Regions from separate parts of the Homo sapiens genome. Here regions 2, 3 and 4 are each linked to region 1. The links are contacts of gene promoters, found by promoter capture Hi-C in blood cells and fetal thymus (Javierre and others, 2016). All regions are on one chromosome and are shown on one strand. The core of a region is centred on a gene start or on the middle of the fragment in contact, and the rest is flanking DNA. Distances in the headings are between cores, read along the strand shown.

Region 1 (6,125 bases), core at 685-3,184:
ATGTAGAACCTATGCTATCTTTGCAATTTTTTGGTAAATCTAAAGTTGTTTCAAAACAAAAAGCTAAAAAACAACAAAAAAGGTGCTAGTCCATAGCCAGGAAGACCTTTATACAGGGCTGAGCAGATGATAATCTACTTACTCTCTGCCTTTTCTTTCTTGACGTGCTTCATTCCAGCCAGTAAAGCTCCTCCAATAGCAAATGTGATTGCTAAAGACTTCCAGGAAACAGGCTACTGGGGCAGGGATTTCAAACATAAAAATTCTAGTAAGATGCAAACATTTAACCATACAAACTTATTAAAGTAGTTTTTAATATACATACACACAGGCCATGATGTTAAATGTGCAAAATGTTTCAGGGATGAGAAAATGCTCAAAGTTTCTGTGGATGCAGTTAGGTCTGGGATCTGAACTACAAAGGCATTCATCTCCAGGGGAAAGTTCCCTAAGTCAGTTCTCTTCATGTAAATAAAAAAAAAAAAAAAAAAAAAAAAAAGCTCAAGTACCACGATTGTTACTATGTGTGACCCTAGCTCCAGTAATGACTTTAAAACCAATTATGGCCGGGCGCGGTGGGTCACGCCTGTAATCCCAGCACTTTGGGAGGCGGAGGCGGGTGGATCACCTGAGGTCGGGAGTTTGAGACCAGCATGGCCAACATGGTGAAACCCCATCTCCACTGAAAATACAAAAATTAGCCGGGCGTGGTAGCGGACCCCTCTAAACCCAGCTACACGGGAGGCTGAGGCAGGAGAATCGCTTGAACCCGGGAGGCGGACGTTGCAGTGGGCCGAGATAGGGCCACTGCACTCCAGCCTGGGCAAAAGAGCAAAACTCCGTCTCAAAACAAAAACCAAAATCCAAAAACACACACACAAAAAACAATTATCTGCTTATGCTGATACTGAGATAAATAGACCAAACGAAATTTGGGAGGTTAACTTAACTCTGGCTTCCAGAAGTAACAATGCCAAAGTAGAAGAGGAATCTAAAAGTGGAGCTTCTTGCAAATTACACCCATTATTTCTTTGTACCCTTATTCAACTCCCCAAATGAAGATGATGTTGGCCAACTAGACTAGGCCTAACTCATTAACCTTCCCGTAGCTCCAAAAACCCACTTCTCTTACCACAGGGTAGTGGCTCTCAAGTTATTTCTGGGTCAGAATTAGAACTCGAGAGAACCCCAAGAAAAAGGCAGATCCACACATAACTAAGTTCCACTTTTTGTTTCAATTTCAACGTATACATGGAACTCTGGATGGGGCTCAAGTGACAAATTATAAAAGTCCTCTGACTTCTCAATCACGGTAAACTTTAGGTTCATACCCTTAAGAAAACCTGAAACTTAATTTTTTTTTTTTTTTTGATGGAAACGCTAACATAAAATCCAAGTCGGGGCATCCAGCCACGTGGAGAGGGTGTAAAGTCTCAAGTTCTCTGTGGAGAACTGGGACTACCCGCAAGGCACGGGAAATGTAGGATGAAATTCCATGACCCAGGTAAGGCGCGCAAGCTAAGGACAACTTTAGGGGAGGCGGAGTAGTGTCTGAGGTTACGACCAAGTGGGATGTGGCCGCTGGGCTGGCCGACAGCCGCGACGAGCACCAGAAGGGTTCCAGGTGTGCACTCACCCCGGGCTTCGAGGGGCGCGTGGAGTCTCCGGGGCCCTTCTGCGACCACGGGGGTGGCGGCCTCGCAGTGCTGAGGGGCCGGGTTCCCAGGCAATAGCCAGGGCGCCCCGAGGCACGCCACGCCTCCGCTTGCCGCGCGCAGAACTGCCTCAGCAAGACTCTCGCAGTCCCCTCGGCTGGGCCCCAAAACTCGAGTCCGCGAGGCAAGAAGCGCCAAAGTTGGCCACCCAGAGGCCGCATAACTCGTCCGGGTACTAGGACCAGCATCGCCATGAGCCTCGGAGACCGGGTCTCCTTTGACCCTCCCCGCGATTTCCGGTAGCGTTCCGCTTCCTCCGGAAGTCGGAAGGAGTCGCTCTGTCCGTCCCGCTCGTTGGTGGCGCTGTTACATAGCCCGTAGTCAGAGGCCTTTCAGCCCAGGGGCCGGCGCACGGTAGGTAGTTCCCTGCGGCTGGAGGCGGGTCTGGCGCGGGCTGGGCGGTGCTGCGGGGCCGCGGGACAGCGGAGCGCCGGGAAGGGGGCTGCCTTAGGGGTCCAGGTGCGCGGCTGGGCCGAGGCAAGGCGGCCCCAAGCGCTGGGGGCCCCCGCTTTGGTCGTGGGCTTCGGTGACCACAGCTAGCTCCTCGCGCCGGGGACACCCCCACCTCGGAAGAGAGAACACACTGCCTAGAGACCCACGGGACTGGGCAGCCCCCATAACCCTACCTTGTCTGGCCGACTTTGTCAACCTCGTCCTGCCGGCCAAGAGGAAGTGCCAGAATGTTGACTCCTTTACATCTTTGAAATAGAAACCGACCCATTGCGATTGAAATAGTCTTTAACTTAAAAAAAATTGCTAATTAGGATAATTTGAGTGGTTAGGGCGGTCTGGAAGAACTTTAAATGCCCAGCGCTTCTAGTTATTTAACATTATAATGTAACCTAATTAATAAAGCATAGCAGTGTGTAAAGAAATATAGACAGCATGATATCCCATCCGTTAACTTAGTCTTCCTGGGTCCCAGTTTCTTAAAATACTCTCACGGACTCCCTTGCTCCCTACAGTTTCGTTATTTGAAGTTTGTTATGGGTTCCTCATCTGGAACTGCTTATGTTCCTTGTTAATGAGGCCAAGAGCATTCGTAGGTTTTTCGTTCTTTGTGAAAGTCTAACTTCATTTCATCTGCCTTTATTTATATCTTAATATCCGCAATATTAACCACTCCCTCCCCGCCCCTACCTCGGTGGTTGCTTTACAAAATACAGAGAAATAAAAAAAGGAAAATCGTCCTCTAATTATCTTCCTTAACTACAGATCCCGCTCCTGTGTGGCTTTTTTTTCCCCCATGGGACCGACTCTGAGTAGGAGAAACTCGTGCTCTGATGATTGTTGGACCAGAGCATGGTTGGTTTGCTTGTTTTCTATGAGTTAGCCAAACTAGCCAACTGTTCTGTTCTCTAACCCAGTAACGGAACATAGTGTTACCTGTGTTTCTTGATTCGCGGTTGGACTAGAATTTTCAGAAATTTCTGCCAAAGTTCTTAAATGTTTGTTCAGCACTTCAAGTCGTTAATCAAACTATTTTTTTCTATCTTATAGTTGCCTGTGGGTAGGATTTTTGCTCTTTTATCTTTGTGTATTTGTTTGCCCAGGGATAATTTTTTCTTGTAATTGACAAAAAGACATAAAAGTACCTTGTGTAGTCAGGCAGATAGCATACAAAATTATTGTTCATCTCTGATTGCCCAATTGTAGGTTACCTGATCAGCCACCCAAATTAAGATTGAAGTCAGTGTTTCTACCTGATCTATTAAATTTTATTTGCTAAAGTGCTTCTTTTAGTAGCAACTTCTTCATATTAATTTTATAATATTAAATAAAATGCTATCATTGAAAACAGTTCTTGGGGCCAGATGTGGTGGCTCACGCCTGTAATCCCATCACTTTGGGAGGCTGAGGTGAGTGGGTCACTGGAGCCTAGGAGTTTGAAGCTGCAGTGAGCTGTGATCGGGCCACTGCCTTCCAGTCTGGGCAACAAAGCAAGACTCTGCCTCTAAAAAATAAATAAAATAAATATAAAATATAGTTCCTGGCTCAAAGTAGGTGTTTTATAACTGCATTTTGGATGAATTGCTAGTAACACCTGAGCCTGATGGCAAGGACCCATGAAACTTTAGTGCCAGAAGGCGCCTACAGTGTTATCCCTTATAGACCTTATCACTTTTATTACTGCTGTGAAACCACCAAAGTCACCAAATGAGGTTTATGTTTTGTTTTCCAAGTTAGATATTTTTCTTTTCTTTCTTTTTTTTTTTTTTTTTTTTTTGAGACAAAGTCTCCCTCTGTCGCCCAAGCTGGAGTGTGCAGTGGTGCGATCTCAGCTCACTGCAACCTCCGCCTCCTGGGTTCAAGCGATTCTCTTGCCTCATCCTCCCGTGTAGCTGGGACTAGAGGTGCGTGCCACCAGGCCTGTCTAATTTAAAAAATATATATATTTTTAGTAGAGACAGTGTTTCACCATGTTAGCTAGGACGGTCTCGATTTCCTGACATCGTGATCTGCCCGCCTCGGCCTCCCAAAGTGCTAGGATTACAGGCTTGCGCCACCACACCCGGCCCCAATTTAGATATTTTTCTTGAGAGAAGCAGGGCATGGATTAGTATCATCTGATATTGGTTCTATCAATAGTGATCAGATTTTGTTCTTGACATAACTTTAGGCTGGTTTGACTGGGGACAGCTAGGCCCTAACTTTTGTGAACTTCCCAGCACCCTAATGTGTTTACTTCATTTTTGTTCCAGGCCCCTGCCCCTTGTGCCTAACTCCTAACCACAAACATTTCCTGCCCCAACTTAACTTTCCTTTTGGTATGGTATCTGCGTAGAAAACATATGCTGCACCCTTAGGCTAGGAGCCTCTGTTACAATAGTTTCTCCTAACAAAGTCTCTCTTTATTAATCTCTAGACTTTCCCTGCTGCCCCCTTCACCTTTGACAATAGAGTGAAGAAATCATACTCTTTTCAGGGTAGAGCTACTTCTTTTACAAGTTCATTATTGATGCTTGAAGGCTTTCCACAAGGAACTTCAGCCTTCTGCCAATCTTAAGTATTGGAAAAGTTTTATTAGTATGATCTTATAGCAACTTTTCAGTAATTAAGCATCCTTGGGTATGGGAGGCCTGAGGCAGGTGGATCACTTGAGCTCAGGAGCTTGAGACCAGCCTGGGCAACATGGCAAAACCCTATTAGTATGATCTTGTAGTAACTTTTCAGTAATTAAGCATCCTTGGGTATGGGAGGCCTGAGGCAGGTGGATCACTTGAGCTCAGGAGCTTGAGACCAGCCTGGGCAACATGGCAAAACCCTATCTCTACAAAAGAAAAAAAAAAAAAAGCCAAAAAAAGTCAGGTGTGGTGGTACATGCCTGTAGTCTTAGCTACCAGGGAGGCTGAATTAGGAGGATCACTTGAGCCCAGGAAGTCGAGGCTACAGTGAGCCATGATCGCACCACTGCACTCCAGCTTGCGCAGTAGAGCCAGACCCTGTCTCAGGAAAAAAAAAAAAAAAAAAATCTCTCATGCCTAAGGTAGTTTTCTCAAAATACTGGCTGCTTATCCTGTACTATGACATGATAGGAATTTTGAGAGCAACTCTTGTAAACTTTTCTACATTATTCTCTTCTATTAAAATGTTGCAGTAGTTTCAGTTATGAGGCTCATTAGACAGATTTTCAGATATATAATTTTAAAATTATTTTCTTAACATGCGTATAGTACTTTATGGTTTAGAGATTTACAGAGTAATAGTTTACTGTGATCATAACTCAGTTGAAGCTCACGATAACCTATTGAGGGTTATTTTGCTTCAGGAAACACGAGGACTATAATTCAGTTCTGGGTTTTTCATTTCAAAGGGTTCAGCACTTCATAATACCTCTTTAAAACTTAGACAGCGTAGCATGTAATAAATGGTGCAGGCAAACTTTGAAAACAAAGTTCACTAAAAACTTGCCATTCTCCTTTCTATTCAAAAGCGAAATATTTCCTTAGGTCTTCTAATTTTTCCAGATTTGATTTTCTCTAAAGTTTTGAATTTTCTTTTTTAAAAAAACTTTATGTATACTTTTTTTTTTTTGAGATGGAGTCTCGCTCTGTTGCCCAGGCTGGAGTGCAGTGGCGCGATCTCGGCTCACTGCAAGCTCCGCCTCCCAGGTTCACACCATTCTCCTGCCTCAGCCTCCTGAGTAGCTGGGACTACAGGCGCCTGCCACCACACCCGGCTAATTTTTGTATTTTTAGTAGAGATGGGGTTTCACCATGTTAGCCAGGATGGTCTCGATCTCCTGACCTCGTGATCCGCCCACCTTGGCCTCCCAAAGTGCTGGGATTACAGGCGTGAGCCACCACGCCTGGCCTATATGTACATTTTTAAACACACATAAAAGTAGTTAGAATAAACTTCATGCACCCATTTCTAGCTTCCACAATTATCCTGTACTCACTGATTTTT
Region 2 (5,622 bases), core at 1,417-3,916, 1.3 Mb after region 1:
ATAAAGCCCCAAATCAAACTTCTAGAGGTGAAAAATTCATCTAAAATGAAAAATATACTGGAAGAGATTAACAGCAGATTAGATGCTGTGAGATGAAAAGACTAATGAACTTAAAGACATCAAAATAGAAACTGTCCTAAATGAAACACCAAGACTTCAAAAACAGAATGAAAAATATACTGGATGAGATTAACAGCAGATCAGATACTATAAAAGAAAAGATTAATGAACTTGAAGACAAACAGAAATTGTCCAAAATAAAAGACCAAGACTTCAATAACAGAATGAAAAATATACTGGATGAGATTAACAGCAGATCAGATACTATAAAAGAAAAGATTAATGAACTTTAAGACATACAGAAATTGTCCAAAATAAAACACCAAGACTTCAAAAACAGAAAAACAATCAGTAAGCTGTGGGACAACTTGAAGAGCTCTGATACATGTATATACATTATCATTATACACATTCCACAGGTATTATTTCCCAAGTCCTTAAAGGAGAGGAGAAATAAGCGAGACAGAAAAAAAAATGCTTTAGAAATAATGGCCAAAAATTTTCCAAGTTTAGTGAAAACCATACACCCACAGAGCTAGGAAACTCAATAAATCCCAATTACATGAAATGTGAAAATGACTCCAAGGCACATCAAAATCAAATTGTTTTAAAAAATGAGAATACACTGAAATAAGCAAATATATATATATGTATATATATACACATTATATGCATAAGAACAAAGATAAGAGTACATTTGGCATGATTCTATTTTTACAAAACTCTAGAAAAAGTAAACTAACATATGGTGACAGACAGCAGATCAGAGGTTTCCTCAGGATGGAGAATGGGGTGAAGAGAAGCAGGAGGATGAGATTATAAAAGGTAAAAAGTTTCCTTTTCATCGCTTTTGTACGTCAGCTCACCTGAGGTGCTGCTGGGAGCAGTGAGGCTCCGAGGTCCTGGTCTCTGATCAGCCTTTCCTCCAGTCGGGCAGGCTGGGAGGCAGCCAGGGCTGAAGTGAGGAGAGGAAGTTTTCAGAATCTGGATGTCTTCCTTAACCACTCCCCAGAGGGCGCAGATAACAATCTTCACAAATCAGAACAATACCTGAACAATACCTGTACTGCCATCTATATTTCAAGACTTGTGTTTATCTCCCTGACACACTCCAACCCCCTCCAACATTCCAGTCTCACCCATATGTTCTCCCACCTCCTTCCTCAGAGCCAAAATCCAAATGGTCTGGCCCAGTCATAAAGCAGTTTAAAACACAGACTTTGACTCTCCAAACAAGAGCGGTTTATTTAGGTCTAACCTGTTTGCAAACCTCTCAGGGATACGCCAATCTGAGCAGCATACCATTTCAACTCACTTAGGCCTACTAATCACAATCCCAAAATCTCTCCAAGAGAACACCACACAGCACCATCCTCACCTAGTTCTGCTTCTGTGTCAGATTCCTCTTTCACGATGTGGCTCAGAAGCTCCCCAGGCCCTGAGGATGAATTCTCAAGTCCCAACTCCTGAGGCACCACTTCAAGATGGGGCTCCACTTCCCCCACTTGGCAGCTTGGAGATTCCATCTTCTCTGATAAGATGTCCTGTCCTAGAACCTGGATACTGATCTAGAGACCATATATTAATTAGTAATTACTGAAGAATCCAGAGTAAGGATCTCTAAAAGACACAAAGCTTACTCTCTACAACAGATCATAAGACAATTTCTAAGGATGTGGAGAAAGAGAAAACCAGCTTTTATTTCTAGTCCAGCAGGAACCAGGGAAAGAAACGTCCCAAAAGACACCAAAAGCTGAGGCCCGAATCAGGCGTGGGAGACCTTCAAGACATGCCACTAACGTGCTTCTACTGGATATGCGCCACCAATGAAAACTCAGGCATCTTTTAAATAACTTCTCAAACATTCTAGTCTAAAGGTGGAATGCGCTGGGAGACTTTACCCTCAATCCTCAATAGCTAAAGAGTGTTGAGAGTCAGAGAGTGTTAGAATTACGTGAGGTATGGGGGAACCCAGCTGTGGTATAATAAGAAATACACATTTAGTCTTTGTCCCCAGTTCCCATTCCCGCAGAGCTCCTAAAACCCTGGTAATTTCTTGAGGGACAGGTGAAAGAAGAGTCTTTGTTATTCATAAGGAGCCCTTCTCAACCACACCTGAGTTTATGCTAGGCTCCTAGATAGCTTCAGGATGGGGGCTGGTTGCCAGAGGAACCAACCTTGAGATTAAAAGGTTGGAACTTTCAGTATCTCCACCCAGCTTCTGAGGAGGGGAGGGCAGCTGGAGATACTCAATCACCAACGGCAAATGACTGTATCAAGTGTGCCAAAGCAGTGAAGCCTCCATAAAAATCCCTAAACCATGAGGTTCAGGAAGCTTCCAGGTTGGTGACCTCATGGAGGTACTGGTAACGTAGCACGCCAGGAGAAGCATGGAAGCTCCACGCTCTTTCCCCCACACCTTGCTCTATGCAGCTCTTCTCTCTGGCTGTTAATGAGTTGTATCCTTTAGAGTAAGTCAGTAACAGGAAGTAAAATCCTTCCCTGAGTTCTGTAAGTCATTCTAACTAATTATCAAACTTGAAGAGAAGACTGTGGGAACCTCCGAATTTATAGCCAATTTGTCAGAAGTACAGGTGGCCCCTGGGACTTGTGACTGGCATCTGAGAACAGGAGCAGTCTTGGATTGAGCCCTGAACCTCCAGAGTTAGCTTCAGAACTGAATTGCTGGACACTGTACTGGTGTTAGAGAATCACAGAATTGGCCATTGGTGTGAAAAGCCCCACCCATTTTGTGTCATAAGTGGTATCAGAAAAAAGACAACACACCTGATGGGACCAGAGAGGAGCCCTGTGTTTCACTCGCAGATCATAATACCCTCTGCTTACCCATTGCCACAGTCTCTGGGGGTCCCCCTTCAAGCTTTCCACAAGGGTCACTGCCTCTTCTCCACTTCCTGGACACTGTTTCCGCACCCACATCTGGATCTCCCCAGGCAGGATGGTCAGAAACTGCTCCAACATGAGGATCTCTAGGATCTGCTCTTTGGTGTGAACCTCTGGCTGTAGCCACTGGAAACAGAGCTTCCGAAGTTGCTTCAAGGTCTCATGAGGCCCAGACATCACCTGGTAACGGAACTGCCTGAAAAGCTGGCGTGCGGTCTCAGGGCTGGAGAGTTCCTCTTGAAGGGCAGCATCTGATTCTGAGAACTGGGAGTCCTCGGCCTTCGCCAGCGATGGCAGCAGGCCTAGGGCCTGCCCCAAGTCAACGGGCATTGTCCAGCCTGGCAAGTCCTTTTAAGTAAAGTGCTTCTGCAGTGGAATTGTCTCCGGCAAGAACTAGGTCTTCACCAGGACACTAAAAAGGGAATGAGATTGAGTGCTACACAGAGGAAGGGGACACATTTTCAGAAAGAACAAATTCACATGCCCTACCCGAGAAGCCATGGGGTCAACTATGGAGCTTTTGAAATTGCTCAATGGATACACGATTCTATTTTGAAAGATTATAAACTTGAAGCCACAAAGCAAACTACTGATACTGTATCTAAACAGCCACCATTTCCCTGCCCATTTTATAATGTTCTTTCTTGGTCTTCAAATGTCCAGACAAAATGAAGAATAAAATGCACCATACGAAACTTTTTCACTATAGGTTTCCAGGTAAACGGCTCTTCTACAAAACACTTCTACATCTTCATCTATATATCTGCATACTAAAAAATAAAGCTGGAAAAAGATATTAATGCCCTAGGAATAAAAGCTAATGCCTACATGCTTCTGTAATAAATAGGAGGTTAAAGAGAACAAGTTAAGTCTTCCAAAAGGTACCAAAAGTACTTCCAAAAGTATACCAAAAAGGTGTAATGAAACTTCCAAGAGAGGTCTTTTGAGTGCCATATTAAAATAGGTCTATTTGAGAATTTATGAAAAAAACAAGTATCATACCTGACACTTTCAACCTTGGGGTTAAAGAGGGTGAGAAGGCTGGGCATGGTGGCTCACGCCTGTAATCCCAGCACTTTGGGAGGCCGAGGCAGGTGGATCACGTGGTCAGGAGATCGAAACCATCCTGGTTAACACGGTGAAACCCCGTCTCTACTAAAAAAAAATACAAAAAATTAGCCGGGCATGGTGGCGGGCACCTGTAGTCCCAGCTACTCAGGAGGCTGAGGCAGAAGAATGGGGTGAACCCAGGAGGTGGAGCTTGCAGTGAGCCAAGATCGCGCCACTGCACTCCAGCCTGGGGGACAGAGAGAGACTCCGTCTCACAAAAAAAAAAAAAAAAAAAAAAAAGAGGGTTGAGAAGACTAACTACCTTGAAAATACTCCTATGGTGTTGATATAAATAATCACTATTTTATGTGAATGGTATCAAATTTTAGAAGATCACAACTAAGACAGTAGAAAGAGAAATATTAAATCGCAAATAATATTATTCTAAAAAGGATCATCCACTACTTCTAGTTAACTTTCTTGCAAGTAATCACAATATAGGATTACTGGGTAAATCCTTAAATGTTATGAAGAATTTGGTGGTCATCATTTCTCCCTAAGACTAATCACAGCAATTTTTAAAAAAAGATACCCCATCACTTGAGGATCTGGCTTAATCAGAGATCAGTACAATACTCTAGCTTTTTGTAGCTGCTTATTTCTTAAGGTGTAGGAAACAATGTCTTCATCCTTACCGTTTCACCAAAATAATTTATCCGACATTGGAAAATCATTTAAAAACTAAAAAAGAAAAACAATTTTTTTTCAAGGGCCTGAGAAAGGAAAAAGCGAAGTCAAAAGAATTACAGTTGACCATTGAATAATGCAGGAGATAGGGGCGCCAACCCCCCACACAGTAGAAAATCCATATATAACTTCTGATTCCCCAAAAGCTTAGCAGTCTATTGACTGATGCCTTAAATAGTTGATTAACATACATTTTGCATGTTACTGTATTTTTGTGATAAAGTAAGTTAGACAAAATATTATTAAGAAAATTATAAGGAAGAGGCCAGGCCAGGTGGCTCACGCCTGTAATCCCAGCACTTTGGGAGGCTGAGGTGGCTGGATCACAAGGTCAGGAGATCGAGACCATCCTGGCTAACACGGTGAAACCCCTTCTCTACTAAAAATACAAAAAATTAGCCAGGCGTGGTGGCGGGCGCCTGTGATCCCAGCTACTCGGGAGGCTGAGGCAGGAGAATGGCATGAACCTGGGAGGCAGAGCTTGCAGTGAGCTGAGATCGTGCCACTGCACTCCAACCTGGGCGACAGAGCGAGACTCCGTCTCAAAAAAAAAAGAAAAAGAAAATTATAAGGAAGAGAAACTACATTTACTATTCACTAAGTGGAAGTGAATCACCATAAAGGTGGTCACCTTCATCATCTTCACACTGAGTAGCCTGAAGAGGACAAGGAACAGGAGAAGGAGAAGGAAGGGTTGGTCTTGCAGTCGCAGGAGTCACAGAGGCAGATGAAAATCCTTGTATAAATGGACCCTTGCAACCGTAATCCAATACCAAATGTTTTTTATGTGGTCCTCATTAAATTTATTTTTTGCTTAAAAAGAAACCCAGGTCTGAGCGCAGTGGCTCACGCCTGTAATCC
Region 3 (5,754 bases), core at 1,170-3,669, 1.3 Mb after region 1:
TACAGTGAGCCATGATCTCACCACCACACTCCAACCTAGGTGCCGAAGCTCAAAAAAAAGAACTGAGCAAAAATATTACCATACTGTTTTTTTTGCCACAGTATTTCAACAGTATCCAGATATCCCAGAAGAAAGAAAAAAGCTGTAATGATCAGAAACATGATAAAAGTCTCAACTAAATGAATTTAATTATGTAAATTGTAAGACATTCTGTAATACTGTAATAAATATCATATTTTTACCTAAAAATTAAAACCCAAAGGAATTCTGTGACTGTGGCCTCATAGAGATAGCTAACTACCATTAATGTAGTTTTGTGTGTTAGGCCAATGTTTACTGTTTTATTTTATTTTGTTTTGTTTTGTTTCTGTCTTTTTAGAGTCCTGCATGTGCCTCTGAGCTTAATCTCTGTTCTGGTAAGATGTCAAGATTCTGGCCTCCTCTACCAAGAAGGAGGTCAGGGCTTCAGTCACAGAGCTTCACCACCAAATGCTGAGACATCATCTCCCAGTGAAGACTCTATGTTGATCTCCCTTTTGAGCTTCAGTTCCTGCCAGAAAAAGAGCTGCAGCCTTCAGATGCAGATTTGGGAAGCTTCTGAAGTCTTTAGGCTTCTTTATCTCATTAGCCAGGGATCCTTTAAAACTTAGGGAGTTCTACACAGGTGACAATCTTAGAGCGATTGTGGAAGAGGCCCCATGTCCCTTTAAACCTTCCACCACCCAGAATTCTTCTTCGGTCCTCCTAAATGTCTCACTTTGACCCCTTGTTAGCTGAATTCTGATTTTTGTACGGTCACTTGATGCTGCCCGTGGCCTCCTTCACATTCAGGTGCCTGACTCCTTGCTGGACTGATGGCCCTGCTGACTTTGGGCAGTCAGACTTTGCCCTTGCTGGGTCTGTGACATCTATCTCACCTTGAAAGCCAGGACTCCTGAAAATCCCATCAGCACTGAGCAGTGGGAAGCCCCATCTGTCCCTGCTACCTGCTGCTGGGGATGGCTAGACGCCTGCCCACGTTGAGATTTTCTCTGCATTTGGTTTTTCAGACTGAACCTTTCTCCTTCTAACAGAAGCTTCCAGGAGCATGTGGTGGCTCCTGAAGGTCTCACAGATCAATTTTAAAAAGCAAGCTTTTTCTTCCCCTGGAGAAACAGCAAGATTGGTGACACGTCTGTCACTGCTAATTAGCACAAAGGGTCTGAACACTGGGGAACACAGAGAGAGAAGATGATTGGAATTAACCAGACACCAGGGTTGAAAAAAAATCCATAATGTGGTGGTGCTCAGAGAACGGAAAGAAAATAAAGTTAATCAGCAGCAGTGGTCTGCTGTAGAGTCTTGAGGAGGGCCACTGCAGAGTGCCTCGGGTTGCCCGTGGAGATACGAAGAAGCAGCAGCATGTAGCCAAGGCACCAAACAGAAACCCCATCTTGGAAGAGGCTGGTTACCCGGAATTAAGCAAGGAATGCATTCATTTAAGCTTACAGGGTTCTATCCAAGATCAGTTCTCTTCTCTGAGATTGATGTGGACCCTTCCAACCAGAAGTTGGAAACTGGCAGCATGTATTTTCTTTGGCAAGCACAGTTTTAAAAATTTACTTGAACTGGAATGCCTTTTAGTGGTGCATGCAATTTGCAGTGAGTCATAAGTCTGACCATCCCATTATTACTACTATTATTATTATTATTCAGAGATGGGGGTCTAGCTACGTTGCCCAGGCTAGGCTTGAATTCTTGGGCTCAAGGGATCCTCACGCCTCAGCCTGTCAAGTAGCTAGGACTACAGGCTCAAGCCACCATGCCCAGCTTTGACCATCCCTTTAGATCATGTTCCTTTAACATACTTACAGTACCATCTGGACCCTGAAGGTATTTGAGCAAGTTTGCGCTCAAATATTCTCCAGAAGGCAGAGGAGTCAAGGTTAATGATGCTCCCCTCAGAGTCTGAGCTGTAGAGCCTGCTGGGGATGTCTGAAGACTTTGCTGGTCAGAGGGCCTAGAAGCTGACTACTGAAGATTGGGCAGGGCACTGCCCTTGCCAAATCCCTTATCCCACAGTTCACTTGATACTTACTTAATCAGTCTGTGGCCTCCACCAGATGGTAGGCCACTAGGAACTGTTGTTCCCCACAAGATCCTTATTATTCAGGGAACTCCCAAAAGAGAAATAGGAAGGAATTTGGTCAAGGTCAACAGATAAGAATTTAGTCTAGGTCTACTGTAACTATATCCCAAAAACCAAAATTTAGATACCATGGTCCAAAATTCGGAGCATAGCATTTACAATTGTGACACCCTGGCAAATTCCTGACTTACGGGCACAGGCTATACAGATATCAGCCAGTGTTCACTGGAGGAAATGAAGGGAAGAAAGGAACTCAAATCTCAAGCCCTGTCTAGGAGAAGGAGGCAAGTCTTCAGGGTTATACTCACTTATAAACTGGAATCTGGCCTTTTTCCCAGTGAAGAATCCACTGAATTATCTTAGCTTTCCTTCACATACCTGAAAACAGATATATTCGAGGAGACATGGGTTGGTGTAGACAATTTTTTTTTTTTGCCATCCTTTTATCCCTACATGGCTGCTTCTAGAACTGCCTGCTCCACTCAGGGTTCCAGGAGGACAGCCTTGGGTTCAAGGCAGAGACGTTCTTTTATTCCAAATTGTATCATTTGGACCTCTAGAAAACAGGGTCCTATGGTCCTCCATGATCAATTTCCACCCATCTCTGTGCCATACATTCCCGAGCTTTTTTTTTTTTTTTCTTTTTCTTTTTTCGAGACAGAGTCTTGCTCTGTCACCCAGGCTGGAGCGCAGTGGCATGATCTTGGCTCATTGCAACCTCCGCCTCCCAGATTCAAGCAATTCTCCTGCCTCAGCCTCTCAAGTAGCTGGGATTACAGGCGCCCGTCACCATGCTCGGCTAATTTTTGTATTCTTGGTAGAGACAAGGTTTCACCACGTTGGCCAGGCTGGTGTCGAACCCCTGACCTTAAGTGATCCACCCGCCTCAGCCTCCCAAAGTGCTGGAATTACAGGCGTGAGCCACCGCGCCTGGCCATTCCTGAGCTTTTAAATCATCCCTCCTTGCTCCTGCCTGCGTGAGACGTAAAAGAAACAACAAATACCCTAACTTTGCTTCTTGAAAAACCACTTAAAATACACCAAATGATCTATTAACATATATTCCTAGAATTCCAACATACAGATTTGTGAGATGGTAGAAAAAAGTGCCTAAAATATGGCTTATCTATGTAATATTAGCAGATGGTAGTTTAGAAAAGACTACAGGAACATCACCTTTTCCTTGACTGCACATGTGGCTTGGATATAACAGACCAAAACAGGGGTGAAAGCTTTATTGTGGTGCCTGTCGAGAATAGATTAGAATAGACAGTAATGGAGAGGACAGTTTCACAAGACTTTATTCTCAGGCTTAATTAGAACCAATAAAAACTTATAAGTAAAAAAAAAAAGTACTATCAATGAATTTCACTGTATAAATATAGTATGAAATGTTTACTAAATGAACAGGATTTTTCATTTATATATCTTGTAATTCTTCGCTATTCTAGTTGAATCTGAGCCAAGAATAGAAACTCAGTACATTTATTTTCTGGTGACTTAAAGAGAAAAAAGGAAAAGTTTTGTGTAAGTAAAATAGAATGTATTTACAAGAACAGACTGCTTTTCTTTAAAACTGCTTCCAAAACATTTGTTTCTGAACTTTTTTTTTTTTTTCCAGATGGAGTCTTGCTCTCTCGCCAGTCTGGAGTGCAGTGGCGCAATCTTGGCTCACTGCAACCTCTGTCTCCCGGGTTCAAGAGATTCTCCTGCCTCAGCCTCCCAAGTAGCTGGGACTACAGGCGCCCGTCACCACGCCCAGCTAATTTTTTTGTATTTTTAGTAGAAACGGGGTTTCAGCATGTTGGCCAGGATGGTCTCGATCTCTTGACCTCGTGATCCACCCACCTCACCCTCCCAAAGTGCTGGGATTACAGGCGTGAGCCACTGCGCCCCGCCGGTCTTTTATTTTTTAAACACTTACTATGCCATGAATTCATAGGGAATATGTTCCAGCACCTCAGGCTTCTTCCTACTGGTTCTCACGAAGTGTGCTTTTCTGGGCAGTGCAGGCTGGCACTTCAGTTGAACCCCAGGTACTTTTCTCTTTGTCTTCTTTAGTTTTCTGATAATTTTCCTTCACTTGTTTCAGGAAGCTATCTTGGCTCTTCACGTGCTTAACATGCCCAATACACACATTAATTCTCTTGGCAAGAATCTTGCCCTTAACTTGTTTGTTTACAACAAATGCCAACAGCATGCTGGGGAACATTGTAGACTCTTCCAGTTTAGCCATGGTGACACCTGTGGGGCATTCCTTTTTGAACAGTACTCATTCCCTTGATGTCTATAATATCACCTTTCTTCTAGATTCGCCTGTGCACGGCCAAAGGAACAACTCCATGTTTTCTAAAACTCCTGGAGAACATATATCGGGTGCCTCTCCTCTTTCACTTTGTGTTCATCATTTTGGTGAATTACTGGAAGATGGCGGTTCCCCTGAATCATATTTTGAATGAAACTTTAAAAGAATATAAATGTATGGTAATAAATATTTGCTGTTTCATAAGAATGTTTATTTAACAACAAAAGAAAGGACATCCATCATCCTGATTTAGTTCCATCATTTTTATTATTATTTTTTTTTGAGACAGAATCTCATTCTGTCGCCTAGGCTGGAGTGCAGTGGTGCGATCTCAGCTCACTGCAACCTCTGACTTCCGGGTTCAAGCGATTCTCTTGCCTCAGCCTCCCAAGTAGTTGGGGCTACAGGCACCCGCCACCACACCCAGGTAATTTTTGTGTTTTTAGTAGAGATGGGGTTTCACCATGTTGACCAAGATGGTCTCGATCTCCTGACCTCATGATCTGCCCACCTCAGCCTCCCAACATGCTAGGATTACAGGTGTGAGCCACCATGCCCAGCCAAATGTTCTTAATTTTTTTTTTTTTTTTTTTTTTTGAGACGGAGTCTAGTTCTGTCGCCCAGGCTGGAGTGCAGTGGCACGATCTTGGCTCACTTCCACCTCTGCCTCCCAAGTTCAAGTGATTCTCCTGCCTCAGCCTCCTGAGTAGCTGGGATTACAGGCATGCACCACCACATCCAGCTAATTTTTGTATTTTTAGTAGAGATGGGATTTCACCACATTGGCCAGGGTGGTCTTGAACTCCTGACCTCGTGATCTGCCCACCTCAGCCTCCCAAAGTGCTGGGATTACAAGTGTGAGCCACTGCGCCCAGCAGTTACATCTTAATTCATTAATTTTCATTAGCTATTATGTTCATGACATTTACAGTCCATAAGCTACCAAAGAATATATAATGTAAAGTGTCCCTCTCAATCCTGTCCACCAATCACCCAGTTTCTCTCTTGAGACACCAAAATTTTCATTATTTTCAGTATCTTTCCAAATAAATTTAAAACAAGTAACTAAATATTACATATACATTTCTCCTTCTTTAAAACAAATAGTAGCAAACCATGGTGTTCTTCATCTGGCTTTTTAAAAGATAACAATATATATTGATAGTCATCCCATATCACTACACAAAGAGCTTCCTCTTCTTACAGCTGGGTAGTATTCGCTCCATGTTTATTCAGTTGCCTGTTAAAGGACATTTAAGTTGATTCTAATATTTTGCTACAAAAATACTATATTCAGTAACCTTGGACATATATCATTTTG
Region 4 (5,342 bases), core at 1,566-4,065, 1.4 Mb after region 1:
GTGGAGTTGAAGATATGCAGATTGGCTAAAATGTTGTAGAGACGGTTTCCATTCTTACAGGCTGGGTGGGAGGATTCTAGTGATTGTAGTTCTCTGATTCTGACCATACAGGTAACAGAATCTTGCTTTCCTGTGATATAATGAAACGAAACAAGCCCATTAGATGGCGGCAGGGGGCAGGGGGCAGTGAAATGTTGATAAGAAAAACAATCTACTAATAATTCTAATTTAATAAATATTTGTTGAACTGCTGTTTTGTCTGAGGTACTGTTATAGGTGATTTGCAGAGTTCAAAGATAAATCAAGATAGTTAAAAATTTAAAGCAGAAAATTGTTTACAATTTTTTGATGGAAACAGACTTGAGGATGAGAGGATGGTAAGGTGAGCCCAGTGTAAAGTGTTTCTTCCTGAGGGACATACTGATGTTTTTGGAAACTAAATAATGCTGGCTCTTAATAGAGGAACTGACACCTTTTGCTGTTCTATAAAATGTGAAGGAGAGATGCTTTTGGTAACCTAGATTGCAGAGATTCCATAGATTTTGTATTGAGTAGTGGACTCTCAACTGCCCGTGTTGAGGTTTTTGGCCAAGATCGAAGCAAACTATATGCTCAGCTTAGCTGGTTGTGGAAAGCAATGTTAAAAAGGTTTGTATTGCTTGAGAAGTTAGTGGAGGGAGAATATTCAGGGCTCTTTATCATCTTGTTTTTAAAGCTAAATAAACCTGGAAGGTGTCTTCCCTCCAACTTCAATATTCTGTGAGTCAGTGAGTTGCTCACAACTAGACAAAGGGTATTCCTAGGCCTCAGTGAATGTGGATACACTTGACCAATCCCTTTCTTCAGGATTACAGTTCTTAATATTCTTGATGATTCCATGTTTGGGAGTGCTTTTCTCATGAGAAATTTGAGGAAGACACTGTGTGCCGATGCTGTGAAAAGCTTGTTTGAAAGGTGCTGGCTGTTCTCTTAAGGCAGAGTTTTGAAACCAGAATTTCAAGGATGATTCTGACAGATTGTTGCCCTCAGCCTTGGAGTGGCTGAGTGGGGACAGGACTGCTCAATGCCTAGGCCAGCCTCTGGGCCAGCTGCAATTCTAATTTTCCCAGCATGTTGAACAAATATTCTCATCTTTTAAACAAGCCATTGCATGAAAAAAGTAGGCAGTATTGCTTTGAGGGGTGGAACAGTGCTTTGGAAGTGTGATGAGGACAGGTACTGTTCCTAAGTCAGGGTTCTTGGTTGCAAACAACAAAGATTTACTCCAGCCAATAACCATATAGGCTTAAGTTGTCTGAGGCTGTCCATGTCAACTTTATTCCCAAATCAATAAACATTTGGAAGTGTTTTCTGTATCAGGCACAGAGCTAAGGTTTTAGGTATACAGAGAATCTCTCGCAGGAAACCGCTTCTGTATAAATATTTTAGGATGTTTGATGCCTCGTTTCTCTCCTGCTATAGTTAAAGGGACAATGTTTATCTGTGTTGACTGGTTAGAAATTGATGATATGACAGTCCCACCAAAGGGGTTATTATAATCACAAATTCATAATGTTTTTGATCAGTTATTTTAAACCCTGTTGTACAAATATTTCAATCTTTGTTAGCATCTAAAAATCTTCACAGGTCATTTATAGTATCACGTCCCTCCTTTCTCCCTGTGAAAGTTGTTTCAAGTTTTTGAAAAAAATTCATATTAATGTCCTATTTGCTTGTAATTTTTTGTCATTAAAAATATCTGAATACATGGTGACAGATTGCCTTTCGGTTTTGATTTTTTTGAGGGACCCTTGAAAAAGAAGTAAAGGAGAGAAGGACCCAGCCCCAGTAGAGGCTCTAGTACTTAGAGAAAGTGAATGGGAGAGGAGAAGATGCCTTTTTTTAAAAAAAAAAAAGCTCATGCCTCCAGGTAGCCAGAAACAGCTTCTCCTGAGTATTGTAAAAGCTATTTTTCTACTTTTCTTGAATCTCACCTTCGGTTGACATTTTGGGGCCTTCCTTTTCCTCCTCAAAACTGCCTTTCAAGTTCATCTTAAACTGATCAGCATTTGAAGAGTTGGGGTACACAGATGAGACCCAGCAAGGTAACTTGATCATGTGCTAAGCTCGTTGGCACTTGTTTTAGGCTTTGAGTGATCTTTGCTTGGAAAGGCTTCGAAACCTACAGAATTACTTAGTGTGTTTTGTTAGTAAATGATCAGAATATAAATTTGGACTTTTTCAAGATAATTGCAGATGTCTCTGAAGTGTAGACTGTGTTTAAATCTAATTTATGTAACTTAAATCACATTCTCTTCATCATGGTGTACGTTTATGAAGTTAATGGCCTTTAAAGCTTTCAATTTAGTTTTTATTTAAATGTGAATGCAATGCTGAAAAAAATCTCTCTGTGTATTCAGTATAAATACTTATATTCAAGAAAACAGTTTAAGTTTTAACTGTTGTAATATATTTTATTGTTTATCTGGTAAGGTTAGCTACTATTCCGTCAAATTGGGCTTTCTAAGAAAGGACCAATTTTTGTTTTTCTTTGGATAGTTTTCACAATAGTTCTTTGTTCTGTCCTTGTCTTGCATTTTATCTTAGTCTTATATTAATTTTTCTTCACACGGAGGTAATGGATGATGTGCCAGATGGTTTCAAACACAGACTACATGACATATGCTCAGTTTTTGATTTGAGGAGTTTGTAAAGATTTTCTTCAAATTGTGATAGCAAAGTTCCTTAACTTAATTTTTTCTGTAAACGATTTGCCATATTAAGGTAATTAATAGGTTCAAGTTCCAGAGATTAGGAGCTTAGTATCTTTGGGGACCACCATTCAGCCCATTACAGTCTGTTTTCTGGGCCCCAAATATTCATATCCTTCCCATGTGCAAAATACATTTACCCTACCCCAGCGTCTCCAAAATTTTGACTCATTACAGTATTAACTCAAATGTAAATCTCACCTAAATATTACCAGCTCAAAAATCCCAAATCCCATTATGAAAATCATTTAAATCAGGCATGGGTAAAACTCTGAGTATTATCCAGGGCAAATTCCATTTGGTTTCAAGACCCGGGAGTAATCCTCTATCTTTAAATATTTTCTAAAGAAAAATTCTCAAGAAGTAAAAGAGCATATTTACTAAAAAAACCTTTTTTTTTGTATATTGCTGAACCTCTCACAGAAAGTTTTTCTACCAGCAATATATCTTATTAGTGATTCTTCTACCTAGCCATTCTGATCATCATGTTATCATTATGTATATATAATATAAAACCTTCAAACTTTGCCATTTTCATATGAACAAAAGCTTAAAATGTTTTTGGTGTTAGTGTCTTTTTATATTTTCCCTTGATTTGTCTTTACTGCTCATATTCTTATCACTTTTTTTCTATTTTTCTTGATTTCTATGATGTCTTTATATATTTAGAGCTACTGATTTTTGTATTGCAAGAGTTTTCCCAAGGTTCAATTTTTTTTTAGTTTTGTTTTTTGGTAATATACTGAGGGTTTTTGTTTTTTTTTTAAATACAGTCATATCTGCTATGTTTCCTAGTGTACCCTTTGCACATGTTGTTTGAATGTCCTTCCTCTACATTATGTGGAAAAGTCATACTGTACTAACCTTATTTCTGAAAATGGATGTGTTTGGTCTTCGTGGGAATTCACATGATCTGGTAGAAAGGAGGCTTATCTTTGAAAGCAGATCTAGGGGCCGTGGCAAGGAGCTCTGTGCTCTTGTCTCTTTGCCATCTTCTCCATCCAGTGTGGCTCCGTCAGATTTTCAGATCTCACATTTACAGTTTGAACCCTCTATTAAATCCTCATCCACTGAGGTCAGAAAGTGTTTGGATTGCAGAGATATTTTTTGAGTAGTTAATTGTATAATAAACTCTAGAGAGTGAGTTCAGGAAAAAGTGTCTCTAAGGTGAATGTGAAACCAAGATATGCTGCAAATGCTTAAAAAATTCAGTTCTGTTACAAGGTATCCTTTTAAGTCCTAAAGAAATGATTCTGTAAGACTTATTGATATAGAAAGAAATGTTAGTGAATAAAGCATTTTACAAAGCATTTTCATGGTCTGATTTCAATTGTAGTGAAAAAATACATGTCCCTATCTATGTATAGAAAAAAGTCTGCAGTAGTTAGTAAACTGATTATTTTGAGATACTTGGATTGATAAGTTTATGTAAAATTTTAACCCTATGTATTGTATAGGTGTATATGTAACATTTTTAATATATTTGATCTTTTTTTGCATTTTCTGCCCTTCTACCATGGTGGTTTTACTTGGGTAATAAAAAACATTGGTATCTCTTCCCTTCCTACCCTAAAGAAACAGCTTCATGGAAATAATTATTTAGAATACTTGTATTACTAACTTGAAGTTTACTCTACCGTAATGTTTTTAGCAAATTTTTCAGATTCTTCACTCTGTTGTTTATATTCATTAAAATGAGGGAAAACGATATTTATTAAACTGAGGGCATTAAGTATAACACTGAACAGATGGTAATATTTTTAGAATTTTTCAGTATATCTACTGAGATAATTGATTTTTATAATAGTATTTTCACTTGCAAAAGTATTAACTTCCCTGAATAATGGAAACTTGAAGTGATAGCATTCTATCTATTGTATCATAGCCTAGTGAATGATTTGTAGTTAGTAACAACTTTAGATTATTTTATTTTTTCTTAGTTTAAGAAATTCCTCATTGCCTTTCAAAATATTGTCCTATATTAACTGTTTGTTAAAGCAAGTTCTCTTGCCTTTTGGTGTGACTTTCTTATGCCCTCAGAATAGTACCTGTTTTGTAGTACTTGAAACTTTTACTTTTTATTTGTTATTTCTCAGGTAAACGCAAAGCACTGAAGTTGAATTTTGCAAATCCACCTTTCAAATCTACAGCAAGGTTTACTCTGAATCCCAATCCTACAGGAGTTCAAAACCCACACATGTGAGTATTCTTGGTAATCAAAGGCTCAACTCAAGCAAAGATTTTAAAGTTACTGTATTTTATGAATTTTTCCAATTATGAGATGTCAGTATAATTTCTCTGACTAAACTCTCTGGGAATATTGTTTATTCTTTTCCTTCTGGAGTTCCAGTTAAATTGCAAGTTGCATTTAGGAAATTTGACTGTCTTCTGTCCAACTGTACAAATTTTCACCACTTAGTGACAAAATAGAGTCCCATCTTAATAAGCTAGATTCCTGCAAGATTTCTATGTCATAGTAAATTGAAAGAGTTGTGTACATGTGAGTGTACACATATCAGTGGTTATTTCATTTACTGAATTTTTAAACAATAGAAATGATATTGTAGCATCTTAGTGAAAATATTAGAGCAT

Evidence for each region. Contacts are between HindIII fragments. The CHiCAGO score rates a contact against its expected background, and 5 or more counts as called.
Region 2: a fragment that was not itself captured here is called in contact with the fragment with the promoter of SCO1 in region 1 in 1 of 17 cell types (naive CD8 T cells); the score reaches 6.1 in naive CD8 T cells.
Region 3: a contact is called between a fragment that was not itself captured here and the fragment with the promoter of SCO1 in region 1, in 1 of 17 cell types (activated CD4 T cells). The highest score is 5.3, in activated CD4 T cells.
Region 4: a fragment that was not itself captured here is called in contact with the fragment with the promoter of SCO1 in region 1 in 1 of 17 cell types (megakaryocytes); the score reaches 6.1 in megakaryocytes.

The regions. Positions count from the first base shown.
Region 1 is chr17:10,695,599-10,701,723 of GRCh38, forward strand. SCO1 (synthesis of cytochrome C oxidase 1) reads right to left here and starts at 1,935. Exons shown (of 6, transcript NM_004589.4): 1 at 1,637-1,935; 2 at 143-233. The coding sequence starts at 1,909. It overlaps ADPRM (ADP-ribose/CDP-alcohol diphosphatase, manganese dependent), which reads left to right and starts at 1,996. Exons shown (of 4, transcript NM_020233.5): 1 at 1,996-2,069. RefSeq lists enhancers at 912-1,735, 1,736-2,560, 1,854-2,148, 1,864-1,913 and a silencer at 2,034-2,363. The HindIII fragment of the contact is 16,251 bases long and covers 1-6,125 here.
Region 2 is chr17:11,989,536-11,995,157 of GRCh38, forward strand. ZNF18 (zinc finger protein 18) reads right to left here. Exons shown (of 7, transcript NM_001303281.2): 2 at 2,908-3,376; 3 at 1,439-1,628; 4 at 927-1,015. The coding sequence starts at 3,294. Among named protein-coding and RNA genes, the nearest start is that of ZNF18, 5.1 kb to the right of the region's middle. RefSeq lists an enhancer at 1,756-2,410. The HindIII fragment of the contact is 546 bases long and covers 2,394-2,939 here.
Region 3 is chr17:12,006,689-12,012,442 of GRCh38, forward strand. It overlaps a transcript of ZNF18 not described here and the pseudogene RPL21P122. Among named protein-coding and RNA genes, the nearest start is that of MAP2K4, 11 kb to the right of the region's middle. The HindIII fragment of the contact is 1,877 bases long and covers 1,482-3,358 here.
Region 4 is chr17:12,050,043-12,055,384 of GRCh38, forward strand. MAP2K4 (mitogen-activated protein kinase kinase 4) reads left to right here. Exons shown (of 11, transcript NM_003010.4): 2 at 4,847-4,949. Among named protein-coding and RNA genes, the nearest start is that of MIR744, 29 kb to the right of the region's middle. The HindIII fragment of the contact is 964 bases long and covers 2,334-3,297 here.